Linked DNA regions of Homo sapiens: region 2 is linked to region 1. Evidence: promoter capture Hi-C in human tissues and cell types (Jung and others, 2019). All regions are on one chromosome and are shown on one strand. The core of a region is centred on a gene start or on the middle of the fragment in contact, and the rest is flanking DNA. Distances in the headings are between cores, read along the strand shown. Region 1 has its middle 26 kb from the start of COL6A1. Region 2 holds the start of FTCD (formimidoyltransferase cyclodeaminase).

Region 1 (5,860 bases), core at 2,781-5,280:
TGCAGTTTTGTTACCTATGTATACATGTGCCGTGTTGGTGCGCTGCACCCATTAACTCGTCATTTAGCACTAGGTATATCTCCTAATGCTATCCCTCCCCCCTCCCCCCACCCCACAACAGGCCCCGGTGTGTGATGTTCCCCTTCCTGTGTCCATCACTGTTCAATTCCCACCTATGAGTGAGAACATGCTGTGTTTGGTTTTTTGTCCTTGCGATAGTTTGCTGAGAATGATGGTTTCCAGCTTCATCCATGTCCCTACAAAGGACATGAACTCATCATTTTTTATGGCTGCGTAGTATTCCATGGTGTTTTTTAAAGCCAGCGACGTGCCTGGAATTTCCCCCGAAGGGACTCAAGATTTCCCTCGACTTCTGTGTTTGGGGCCCTGCTCCATCTCGAGTTTTCTCTTGTTACTGTACTGTTCCTTCCAGCTCGACACATCTCCGGGCTGAATCCCAAGCTATTGATTTTTAATTTCATCTTGTATCTGGCAAGTTTGCTAAATTGTCTTTGGCTGGTGATTCTGATGGTTTCTGTGGCTGGATTATGTCACCTGCAGATGACAGCCGTCTCTCTTCCCTTCCAATCTTTGCATTTCTTTCTTTCTCTTTCTACACTTAGCCGTGGTAGGAATAACGCTCAAAATCCTAAGGAAATTGAACACTCAAAGGATTCTTAGCAAAGCAGTTTTACTTCTGCGCAGAGGGGTGCCTCCTTGGCCAGTCGCCATGAGAGTACATCTGAACAAAGGGGCACGAGAGCCTTTCTTCCTGCCACAAGTCCTGCCCCTGCCCCCGTGCCCTTTCCCCATCGGCCGGGGTCGGGTTGTACAATCTAATCCCGGTTGGCTGAACATTTGAATTTTTTTAGATAAGGTGAGCACGTAAAAGAGAGGAAAGGGGAAGGGGTGTCTGTAGTGAGCTAGAAAGTTAGTCCTCTTTCCAAATAAGGACAGGAATGTGAGCTGGTACTGATAATGCCTGGTACTGTGGCATGCCTGGGCATCTAACAAAGGCAGAAAGGAAAAAGGAAAAAACCGTGTGAGGGGTACTCTGAATTAAAAGATTGATCAGGCTATTTGAAGAGAAACCTCGCCATATCCCACAGCCAGGACATCCAGTAATAAAACTTGAAATTAGGCAACTTTCCCTCTGTCCTTACTTTGCTAAGAGTTTGTATCACTAATGGGTATTGAACCTTGTGGGATGTGCTTTCTGCATTGGCCGAGATGTTTTTCTCCGTTTAGCCTGTGACTATGGTGGGCTACACGACAGACCTCCCAATGCATGTGCGTCACATTCACAGACAAGCGTTGCTTGATCACGTGTGGTTTTAAAAGCATACGCTGTTGGGTTTGGCAAGCTAATATTTTATTTAGGATATTTCCCTTCACGGGCCTGCTATTTGTTTCATTGTTTTGTGCCAAGCGCACCGGGAATGGTACCGAGGCAGGCCAGGTCTCACTCACGCAGGCCCCCGGGAACAACTGTTTCCACACCGACTGAGGGATGAGGATAAATATTAAAAGCTGATAGAGCCAGCGCCCTTATGCAAAGGCTGGACTGTAAAAGACGTCCCCTGAGAGTTTTGCCCAGGCCTCTCCAGGGCCTTGAAGCATGACAAGATAATGAAGGAATTCTTAACAGGACCTGTTTAGGATTAAACAAGTTTTACTGGGGTCTGAAGAAACTCCCCAGACCTCCACAAACAAGCTTCCTTGGAAACTAAAGGAGCTCCCTCAACCTCCGTGATTTAGCAGAGGGCAAGATAAGGGTGATCACCCCAGCACCTGGACCCAGTTAGATTCAGTAAATCCACTGAGGCTCCAGAGGAAGGTCTTCAGGACTCAGGCCTTAGTGATAGATGAGAAGTTCATCACTTATGTCTTTGGATGAGTGCACACTTACACGCAGACACAGAGCTTAGAAGGCACACAAGCTCTGGAAAACGTTGGTCTGGCGATAATTTCCAGGCCTTCTCCCTGTAACCGGTTAACTCACTCCTCTCCCAGTTCATCTGCGTCTCGTTACTGGGCCGAGAGAACAAGCAGCCCCACCCTCGGTTTGGTCTGGGAACAGCACCCAGCAGCTGAGCAGGCAAAAGCTCGGATTATCTTTAGCTGGTTTTGGAATTGGCTTATACCAGCCTTTTGCCCCTTCTCTAAGTTCTGGCTTGAGCCAGTTTGTCTAAGTTAAGCTTGAGCAGTTCCTTGAGTTTGGCAGAGTCTACCTGGGAAGCCTGGGGCAGGCGCGCGCTGGCCTCTTCCGGGGTCAGCTCTGGCATTTTGTTTTTTCTTGAAACGATCTGGGAATTCAAACTTTCTGAATGCAGCTGCTCATAACGTTCTTGTGATTTCTTTGATCCCTCTGTCTGCAGTTATTTCTGTATTTTCAGTCTCTATTTTTATTTATATTTTCCTCTTTTTTTGCTCAATATTGTCAAAATCAATATATCTTTTCAAAGTATGATCCTTGGTTTTTGCTACTCATATTATTTTATTTTTCTCTATTTCATTGATTTCTGCCAGTATCTTTGTCATTTCCCTTTTTCTTATTACTTTGGGATCATTTTGTTACATTGCTGTTTTTTCCAATTATTTCATTTGTATGATTAGTTCTATTTCTTTTCTTTTTTCTTTTTTTTTTTTTTTTGAAAGAAGGTCTTGCTCTGTTCCCCAGGCTGGAGTGCAGTGGTGCTGTCATAGCTCACTGAAGCCTCAAACTCCTAGACTCAAGCAACCCTCCCACCTCAGCCTCTTAAGTAGCTGGGACTACAAGTGCTGTTAGAAATACCAAAATTGTTCGAAATAGATAATCGGTGCCGCGAAGAAAAGTCAGCACAGACACAAAAGATCTCTCAGCAAGGCCATCTTTACTTTCTGCAGAAAGGGTGCTCAGTCACAGATGGAATGATCGCGAGAGGTCACCTAAGCAAAGGAAAGGCAGACATAATTAACCCTTAAGCATTTGGGTCGTCCTTACTGTTGTGTCCTGCATCCATTGGCTGGAGCTGGGCCTCACAGTCTTAAACTGATACCTGATTTGCTAATAACCTGAAACTTTCCTAAATAGGTAATTAGGAAAGGTCTAAGGAAGCAATAACATTTCCAAATAAGGAAGGGGCATAGGCTGTGAGCTGGAACGTGTCTGTGAGCATGTCCAACAATTACATGGGATAGGGCTTAACAAAGAGTTATTAGCACAAAGCAAGGAGAATTGAAGAAAGTCTTTAAAAGAAACTATTATTTCTAACACTTATGATGTATTCTTTAACAAGAAGGGGAAATTTGAAGAGGAAAACTTTTACTCTCTACAAGCGTGCACCACCACACCCAGCTAATTTATTTTTTCATTTATTGTAGAAGCAGGGTCTTGCTTTGTTGCCCGGGTTGGTCTGCAATTCCTAGGCTCAAGCGATCCTCCACCTCGGCCTCCTGTAGTCACCTGGGATTACAAGTGTGAGCCCCCACGCCCGTCCTATTGAAAATGTATTTATGACTGTATATTTCTAGGTACTCTTAACTGTGTCCTGTGACTTTTGACATACGGTATTATCATTATTATTCAATTCTAAAGAGGTTTTTCATTCCCTCAAGAGTTCTACTTACCCAAAGGTTACTAGTAAAATGTTATTAAATATCCAAACACATGAGATTCTCTCAGGTATCCTTTGAATATTCATTTCCAAATGTTTTGCATCATGGTACGAATTCATAATCTCCATGACACGGATCCTTTGGGGTTTACTGAGGCATCTTTTATGACCTAATCCAATGGTCTCTTTTTGTAAGTCTTCCACGTCTGCTTGAGTAGAAGTGTATTCTCTGCCTGCCACCCGCTCTATGTGGATCTAATAGCTGGTGACTGCGTTGTCAAGTCTTGAACAGCTTTGATGCTTTTTGTCTGATGTGATCTATGTAGAAGGCAGAATCATGGCCCCCAAAAGATGTGCAAATCCTAAACCCCAGAACCCATGAATACATCATATTCCATAGCAAGGGGGTATTAATGTTGCCAATTAATTAAGGTTTCTACTCAGTTGACATGAAAATAAAGAGGTAACTCTGGCTTATCCAGGTGGGTGCAATTTAATTACAAACGCTTAAATGGGGAGGTCAGGGGCAGAGGGATGATGTCACAAACACACCCATGTGTGCTTGGTGCAAAACAGTAAAACAAACAGCAAGAAGGTCCATGAAGGAAAGATCGCCTCTGTCAGTGGGAGTAATGAGAGTGGCTGATGGACAGGTGTGTTAGGCTGTTTGCACTGCTATAAAGAAATACCTGGGGTTGGGTAATTTATAAAGAAAAGAGGTTTATTTGGCTCACGGTTTTGTAGGCTACACAAGCATGGCCCCAGTGTCTGCTTCTGGGGAAGCCTTGGGAAGTGATAGTCATTGCAGAAAGTGGCCATGGAAGCAGGCACATCCCATGGCAAGAACAGGAGCAAGGGACAGAGTGGGCAGAGGAGCCAGGCTCCTTTAAACAACCAGCTCTCATGGGAACTGAGTGAGAACGTGCTCATTGCCAAGAAGATGGCTCTAGGCTATTCATGAGACATCCACCCCGTGATCCAATACCTCCCCCCGGGGCCCACCTGCAACACTGTGAAACACATTTTCACATGAGATTTGGAGGAGACAAAACCTCCAAACCATATCAAGTGGCACACTCACAAGAAAACGTGTCAGTGGCCAAGACGATTTGCAATGAGGACTGGATGAGGCTGGGACCCAACTCTCTGTCTCTGACATTCCTGCTCATCTCATGGACAGAGGCACTGATTGTTCTAGACCATCTTTCCAAGGGTGTTGTTTTGTGACAGCCTTGATAATATGTCCTTCCAGATCAAAGGGCAGGTTGCTTACACCCTAATCCTGAAGGTAAAGACGTTTTCTCCCTCCAAAGCAAAGAGCAGGCATGCTTACTGTCCATTATAAAAGATTCACGTTCCCTGAGCTCAGGGTTCCTCTCCTGCAGTGCAGTCCACGGTGTGTGCAGATGCCACTGGGCCCACTCTGTGTCACTGTTTGGGAAACGGGGCTCGGAAACTGGTGTGAAAAGTATGCTGATACTCTGTTAGAAAAAAATGCCAACATTCTGGCTACTGATATTGCTGTGAGTAATAAAGTACTTCATCCTTGAAAAACCAAAAGGCCCAGTTAAGATAAGGTGGACAGAAAAACACCTAAACAAAGGTAAGGCTTGCTATGGAGAGTCAAGCCAACACTGCCTCCAGTGTAAGAGTTTCTAGTGACTTCGTTCCCCTTCTTTTCCCAATGCAAAGACAGAGATGCCCTTTAAATGGAGGTTTCAGCTGGGCGGTGGCTCACTCCTGTAATCCCAGCACTTTGAGAGGCTGAGGCAGGCAGATCACTTGAGTTCAGGAGTTGGAGACCAGCCTGGGCAACATAGTGAGAGCCCATCTCTACAAAAAATACAAACATTAGCCAGGCGTGGTGTTGCATACCTGTAGCCCGAGCTACTTGGGAGGCTGAGGTGGGAGTATTGATTGACTCCAAGAATTCAAGCTGCAGTCATCTGCAATCACACCACTGCACTCCAGCCTGGGTGACAGAGTGAGACCCTGTCTCCAAAAACAAAAACAAAAGAAAAGAAATGAAGTTTCATTTATTGATGTAAATTGTTCTTACAAAGCATTTCAAAATAACCAGCTGAAAACAGTCCTATGCCAGAAGGCATCTTTGAGAAGCTAAGTTGGCTGCATCACCACTTTTCCAACCCAGCTCGAGGTTTTGGCTTGATCACTGAGTTAGGGCGGAGCCCACTGCAGAATGGGGCAAGCATTTCCTGGACTCAGCACGCTCGCTTCCAATCTTGCCTTATAGTCAGAGACTG
Region 2 (6,291 bases), core at 531-3,030, 200 kb after region 1:
CACCAGTGCCTGCTCCAAGACTGGCTCTCAGCCCCCTTGACGAGTGGGCAGGTGGACGGGGCCCACAAACCTTCCCCGGCGTGGCCCCCTCCCCCCACCCAGCCGTGAAGGTGGCCCGGTGCTGTGGGAGCGTGGCGACCTGGGGGTCCCCCAGAGCACAGCCCTGCAGGCAGGATGGGGGCCATGACCCCCACACTCCAGGGTCCTCCTAGGAGAGCCAGAGCCAGCCCCACTGGACCCCACGTTCCAAGCCTGGGCCCCGGGCCTACCCCCTCTCCCAGGACACCAGGACAGGGCTCGGCCCTGACATTCTGAGACACGGCAGCCACAGGAGAGCCCAGAGACCTCACCTTGGTGCCTGCTCATGTCGATAAGTCGGGAAGCTACCCGGGCAGCGTTGAGGGCCCCCTCCACCACGCACTCCGGCGGCCCCACGAAGGTGTACACGGTGCGGTTGGTGGAAGGGCCTGCGTCCACATCCAGCAGCACGCAGCCCGGGGTCTGTGTGATGGCTCCAGAGATGGCGTCGATCACCTGGGACACAGGCCCGGCCCCCACACCTCAGTCTCCCCGTTTGAAAGAAGGAAAAGGAGCTTGGAGGTGGCTGCACCCCGAGACACAAATGGGGGCTGAGGAGGCGGGCCAAGCCTTTGGGGGCTCTCCGACAAGCTGAGCTCCCACCGAAAGTGCCCGCACACAGCGGCCGCCCGGGAACCCTCACAGCAGCCACAGTCACTCCAGCCCAAGCACAGTCCCCACAAGGGGCTGCAGGTGGTGCCTCCAGGAGAGACTCACGGGCTCTGCTCCGACAGACAGATGCCAGAGACGTGGCCGGGGATCCAAGAAGGTGACCACAGGCGCAGGTCACAGAGGGGCCGGGACCCCCACCCCCGAGCAGGGGAGGGACAGATCACCAGCATGGGGGAGGGGCCTGAAGGGCCTAGAACCTTCCGGGTGGCAGGACTGCTGGGAGCAGGGGCTCAGCCCCAAATCTTGCCCTGTCCCAGGGCCTTGGTGCTGGCTGGAATCCCGGCATGACGAGGCCTCCCTGCACCCCTGCGGGTGACCCCTGTGGCCTGGTGCTGCGCTCTGGGAGGCCTTCCAGGTGGCCCTTAGGGCCTGCGTTTGTTCCCGGAGGAGCCTGGACCTCAGGGCTGTGGAAGGCGAGAGGCCGGACCTGGGGGCCTGCTGCCCCCTCTGTGCCTACTTCGTTTTGGGTCCAGTGAGGATGGTGGCTGCAGGGTGGGGGCTCAGCAAGCTAACTCCAGTGGAGATGGAGAGGCGGCAGTGGGGACCATGCTGGGCCACCTCGTGTGGCCTCACACAGCCCTTTCAGTCAGTGGCAGGAGCCCCATTTTCAGGGGGGAGCACCAAGGCCCTTTGAGGCCCAGAGATCTGCCCAACCCCCCACCGAAAGCACCCGAAAGGCCCCTGAAGCCACAGCCAAGCCTCAGCCCCCACAAGCACCAGTCGTGTTCCACCCACCCCTGGGTCAGGCACTCCCCAGGGCCCTGAGCCACGGGATGTCCTTGGGGCCCACGGGCAGCGGCTCTGCCCATCCTGGGAAGACGACCCGGGACACCAAGCCCACCACCTCCTCCATGGCCTGGGCCTTAGCCACTCAAGCTGCCCCATCAGCCCTAGATGCTTGACCAGCTCCTCGGGCCTCACCTCCTGGTTCTTCCCCTCCGAAAAGTTGGGGACGCATTCCACCAGCTGGGACATGGCCAGCACCTTGATCCAGATGCTCCTCTCTGGGCAGATGGAAGGACAGGGCCAGTGCTCCGCAGCCGCCGCCAGGGCCTTTATACGCTCACCGGCAGCACCTCCCCACCGGCTTCTCATTAACCAGCAAGGCACAAGGAGCAGTGGGGCCAAGGTCCCTGTGCAGCCGCGGAGTGGGGTGCTGCAGAGCCACCCCGGGTGCTGTTGACCCAGAGGGGATGGCTCCACTCAGCCAGAGTGTGGGTTCCCGGAAAAGAAGCACATGCCAGGGTGAAGGGGCATGTGCCGAGGACCCCCAGGAGCATCAGGCCAGCCTGGCTGGAATCCTGTCGTGACGAGGCCTCCCTGTGCCACTGCGGGTGACCCTCGTGACCCTGTGCTGCCTTCTGGGAGGCCTTCCAGGCAGCCCGTGGGGCCTGCGTTTGTTCCTGGAGGAGCCTGGACCCCTGGGGCTGTGGAGGGCGAGAGGCCAGCATGAGGCCCTGGCTCGCAGCACCCAACTGAGGTCAGCTCAGCTCAGACAGGAGAGTGCAGGGGAGCACGCGTGTGAGAGTGAGTGAGGATACACGTGAGGGCAGGGCAGGGGAACACGTGAGAGTGCAGATACACGTGAGCACAAGGCAGGGGAGCACATGTGTGAGAGCGTGGATACATGTGAGCACAGGACAGGGGAACACGTGTGAGAGTGAGCGAGGATACATGTGAGTGTGGGGTAGGGGAGCACACGTGTGAGAGTGCAGGTACACGTGAGCATGGGGCAGGGGAAGCAAGCATGTGAGAGTGAGTGCAGATACATGTGAGCGCAGGGCAGGGGAACACGCGTGTGAGAGTGCAGATACACACGAGACGGGCATGTGCGATATGGGGGAAGGCAGCTGAGACCCCAGCTCTCCCCAGCTGCTGCTCCCCTGACTACAGGCTCCCCACGAAGTCAGCGGCACCAGGGCCGTGCTCAGAAGGGAGAACTCCTGTCTCCACGTTCAGCCGCTGCCCACTTGCAGTGCTTTTATCATTTTCTCTTTTTTTTTTTTTTGAGACAAAGTCTCACTCTGTCAGCCAGGCTGGAGTGCAGCGGCACAATCATGGCTTCCTGCAGCCTTGGTCCCCAGGCTCAAGAGGTCCTTTCACCTTAGCCTCCTGAGCATCTGGGCCACAGGCACACACCACTACACTGGCTAACTTTTCCATTTTTGGTAGACATGGTGATATGGTTTGGCTGTGTCCCCACCTAAATCTCATCTTGAATTGTAGAGCCCATAGTTCCCACGTCATGGGAGGGACCCGGTGGGAGGTCACTGAATCACGGGGGCGGCTTTTTCCGGTGCTGTTTTTGTGATAGTGAATGGTCTCACGAGATCCGATGGTTTTATAAAGGGCAGTTCCCCTGCACACACCCTCTTGTAAGACGTGACTTTGCTCCTCTTTCACCTTCCACCATGATTGTGGAACTGTTGAGTCCATTAAACTGCTTTTTCTTTAAAAATTACCCAGTCTTGCGTATGTCTTTATCAGACAAATACACATGAGGTCTCACCACGTTGCCCAGGCTGGTCTCAAACTCCTGGGCTCAAGCGATCCTCCTGCCTCGGCCTCCCAAAGTGCTGGAATTACAAGTGTGAGCCACTGAGCCCAGCCCCACTTGAAGTTCTTTTTTTTTTTTTTTTTTTTTTTTGAGACAGGGTCTCGCTCTGTCGCCCAGGCTGGAGTGCAGTGGTGCGATCTTGGCTCACTGCAAGCTCTGCCTCCCGGGTTCACGCCATTCTCCTGCCTCAGCCTCCAGAGTAGCTGGGACTACAGGCACCCGCTACCACACCCAGCTAATTTTTTGTATTTTTAGTAGAGATGGGGTTTCACCATGTTGGCCAGGATGGTCTCGATCTCTTGACCTCATGATCCACCCACCTCGGTCTCCCAAAGTGCTGGGATTACAGGCGTGAGCCACCCACTTGAAGTTCTTAATGGAACCCCAACCATGTGGGCCTTAGGGACCCCACCTCCGTGGCTACTCAGGGGGACTGGGATGAGACAGGAGCCAGGTAAGCCCAGAAACCTTCAGAGGCTGGGAGCACACAGAGTTCCCCAGCCAGGGCTCCACGTCTGGAGGCTGGGAGTGGGGGATGGGGTCAGGGATCTGTGTCTGGAGGGAGACCAGGAGGGGAGGATGGGGTCAGAGCTCTGTGGAGCCTCAAGGGGAGGATGGAGTCAGGGATCCATGTCTGGAGGCCAGGAGGGGAGGATGGGGTCTGTTGAGGGCCGCACTGCATTCCCTCGAGAAACCATCTGCTGAAGGCCTGACCTCCAGCATGGCAGACTGGATTACCCCCAGCACCGCCGACTGGATTGGATGTGGAGATGGACAGGGCGGTGAGAAGAGGGAGAGACACCAGGGATGCACTCAGAGAAAAGGCCAGGAGGACAAAGCAGGGAGGCGGCCGCCTGCAAGCCAAGCAGAGAGACCTCAGACAAACAGAATCTGCAGACACTTTGATCTTGTACTCTGGGCCTTCAGGACTGTGATAGAATAAATTTCTGTGGTTTAAGCTGCTGGGTCTGCGGTACTTTGTGACGGCAGCCGCACACATCCAGGGTCCCGAGGTGCGGGGCACTGGAACATTCTGGCTGTGAGGGTTGCCCACACTGGGCTGGCACCTTCATCCTCGCACCACAGCAGAGTGACCAGAACCATACACTCGTGACCCAGGACGGTGCCAAGGCCAAGACCTGGCCCTGTCCTCCAGCCCAGCAAATCGCCTGTCAGGAGAGAGGGTTGGGGCGGGAGGCCCCGGCAGGAGCTGCATGCATTTCCTACCCAGCTACTGCTGGACCAGGGCTTGGCTACAGCTGAGAACACGAGGGGGAATGGGGCTGGTTGTGACGCCGGCGCTGGTTCTCAGGGGCAGCACTGAGACATTAGAAATGCTGGCAGGTGCTGTAAATAGCTCCTGAATCGGGGACCCTAAGGGACCCCACTTACAGGAGAAAGAATCTCAGCTATGCCCACACCAGGGTTTCCACCATCTCTCCCCAGTGACAGGCCCAGGGCTACTGATTCCAGGGCCAGGCAGGCCATACACTTTTCTAACCCAGAGTATGAGACAAACATAGTGGGCCCATAAGTAAATGACTGAATACGGAAGCTGTGTGCAGGAGAATCCGAGTTCACTTGGGCCGGTGCCCACCTCCGTCCCAGGAGGTGGAAATCATCCCCTAGAAGCTCACTGCCCTCCCGTCTACAGATGGAAGAGCTGGTGCCCAGGGCCCGGGTGCTGCCCCAGGAGACATGGCCACGCCAGCCACTTCAGGGCCACCCTCCTCACCCTGTTCCCATTTCTCCTCATTTTAATAGTACAGTAAGAAAAAGTGCAGGAATGGGCTTCACCCTCTCTGCACGGGAGCCCTCCAGAAAGTTCCACGTGCACCTGCAGCTTAGGGGCCTAGGGGGTGGCACTGCCAGGGTGGGGGTCTAGCTTCTGACCACAGGGCCCCCCCAGGCTAGCCCAGCACAGTGGACAACTTGGGCCCCACTATATGGACAGAGGGTGAGCCATGGGCACCGCCCCAGCCAAAGCCCCCAGGGGCCACTCCAAGCCAAGCCCAAGAGCCTGGAAGACACTAAGGCTGTTTGGGGGACCCATGGCCAGAGGCTGAGAACCCCATTCTTCTAGAGACCCAGAGCACAGGGGCTGAATGCCACCTGCCCACCAGACTGTTCCTGTATAACTCATATGGTTTTTGTTTTCTGGTTTACAATGCTTTGACCTCTCGGGGGCCTTACTGGCTAGGTGGAGACTGCCCTCCCAGGACTGGCTAATTCCTAGAGACAGCAAAAGGTGCCTGCAAACAGAGCTCCCCTTTAAGGCACAAGCCAACCCACCTGGAGCCTGTAAACCCAACCACCCCTTATCTGACTCACTCACCAAACCCATGTTCCTCTGCCCTCAATCACCCTGGGGCAGGACGGTGGTCAACTAGACACCACCCCATAGCCCGGAGCCCAGGGAAATTAACCTGTCCAATCCTAAACTTGCTCCTTCGTGCCTACCCTCCCTGGCCTCTCTTCCCAGGGAAACCCCCACAGAGCCTCTGGCCATGCTCTCCCCTCTCGCCTTCTGCGTCCTGTTGCCACGGCGCCCCGCCCCGGGCGGCCCTGTGTGGCACGGTACGTGCCCTCCTGTGGTTTAAGTAGCTGGGTCTGCAGTACTTTGTGACACACTCTCCTTTAAAGTCAGGAGTCCTGTGTCTGTATCCCACCACACCCAACTGAAATAAATCCTGGTGCGTTTCATCACAGCCCTTCCTATCCCAGGCTTGCTGAAAGTATCCACTCGCTGGCACCGAGGGGAAGGGGGCATGGACCACCTGGCCGAGACTGTGTGGCTGCAGCCCTAGGCCTGGGGCCCAAAGCTCCTGGCCCAGCCACAGAGCCAGCCCAGTGCCGGCGTGGCCACAGGCGACCCTCAAAGGTAAGGCCAGAAATCAGCACCCAGCCACAGAGCCAGCCCACTGCCGGTGTGGCCACAGGCCACCCTCAAAGGTAAGGCCAGAAATCAGCACCCAGCCAGAGCT

What was found. The method cuts DNA at HindIII sites, captures the fragments that hold promoters and counts their contacts. A contact is called where the count stands out against the background at its distance.
Region 2: a contact is called between the fragment with the promoter of FTCD here and a fragment that was not itself captured in region 1, in 2 of the 25 tissues and cell types used here (heart right ventricle and mesenchymal stem cells).

What each region holds. Positions count from the first base shown.
Region 1 is chr21:45,952,402-45,958,261 of GRCh38, forward strand. No RefSeq gene overlaps it. Among named protein-coding and RNA genes, the nearest start is that of COL6A1, 26 kb to the right of the region's middle. RefSeq lists an enhancer at 1-12. The HindIII fragment of the contact is 8,613 bases long and covers 1-5,860 here.
Region 2 is chr21:46,153,799-46,160,089 of GRCh38, forward strand. It overlaps FTCD (formimidoyltransferase cyclodeaminase), which reads right to left and starts at 1,781. Exons shown (of 14, transcript NM_206965.2): 1 at 1,672-1,781; 2 at 351-534. The coding sequence starts at 1,725. RefSeq lists enhancers at 1-146, 147-850, 851-1,554. The HindIII fragment of the contact is 26,017 bases long and covers 1-6,291 here.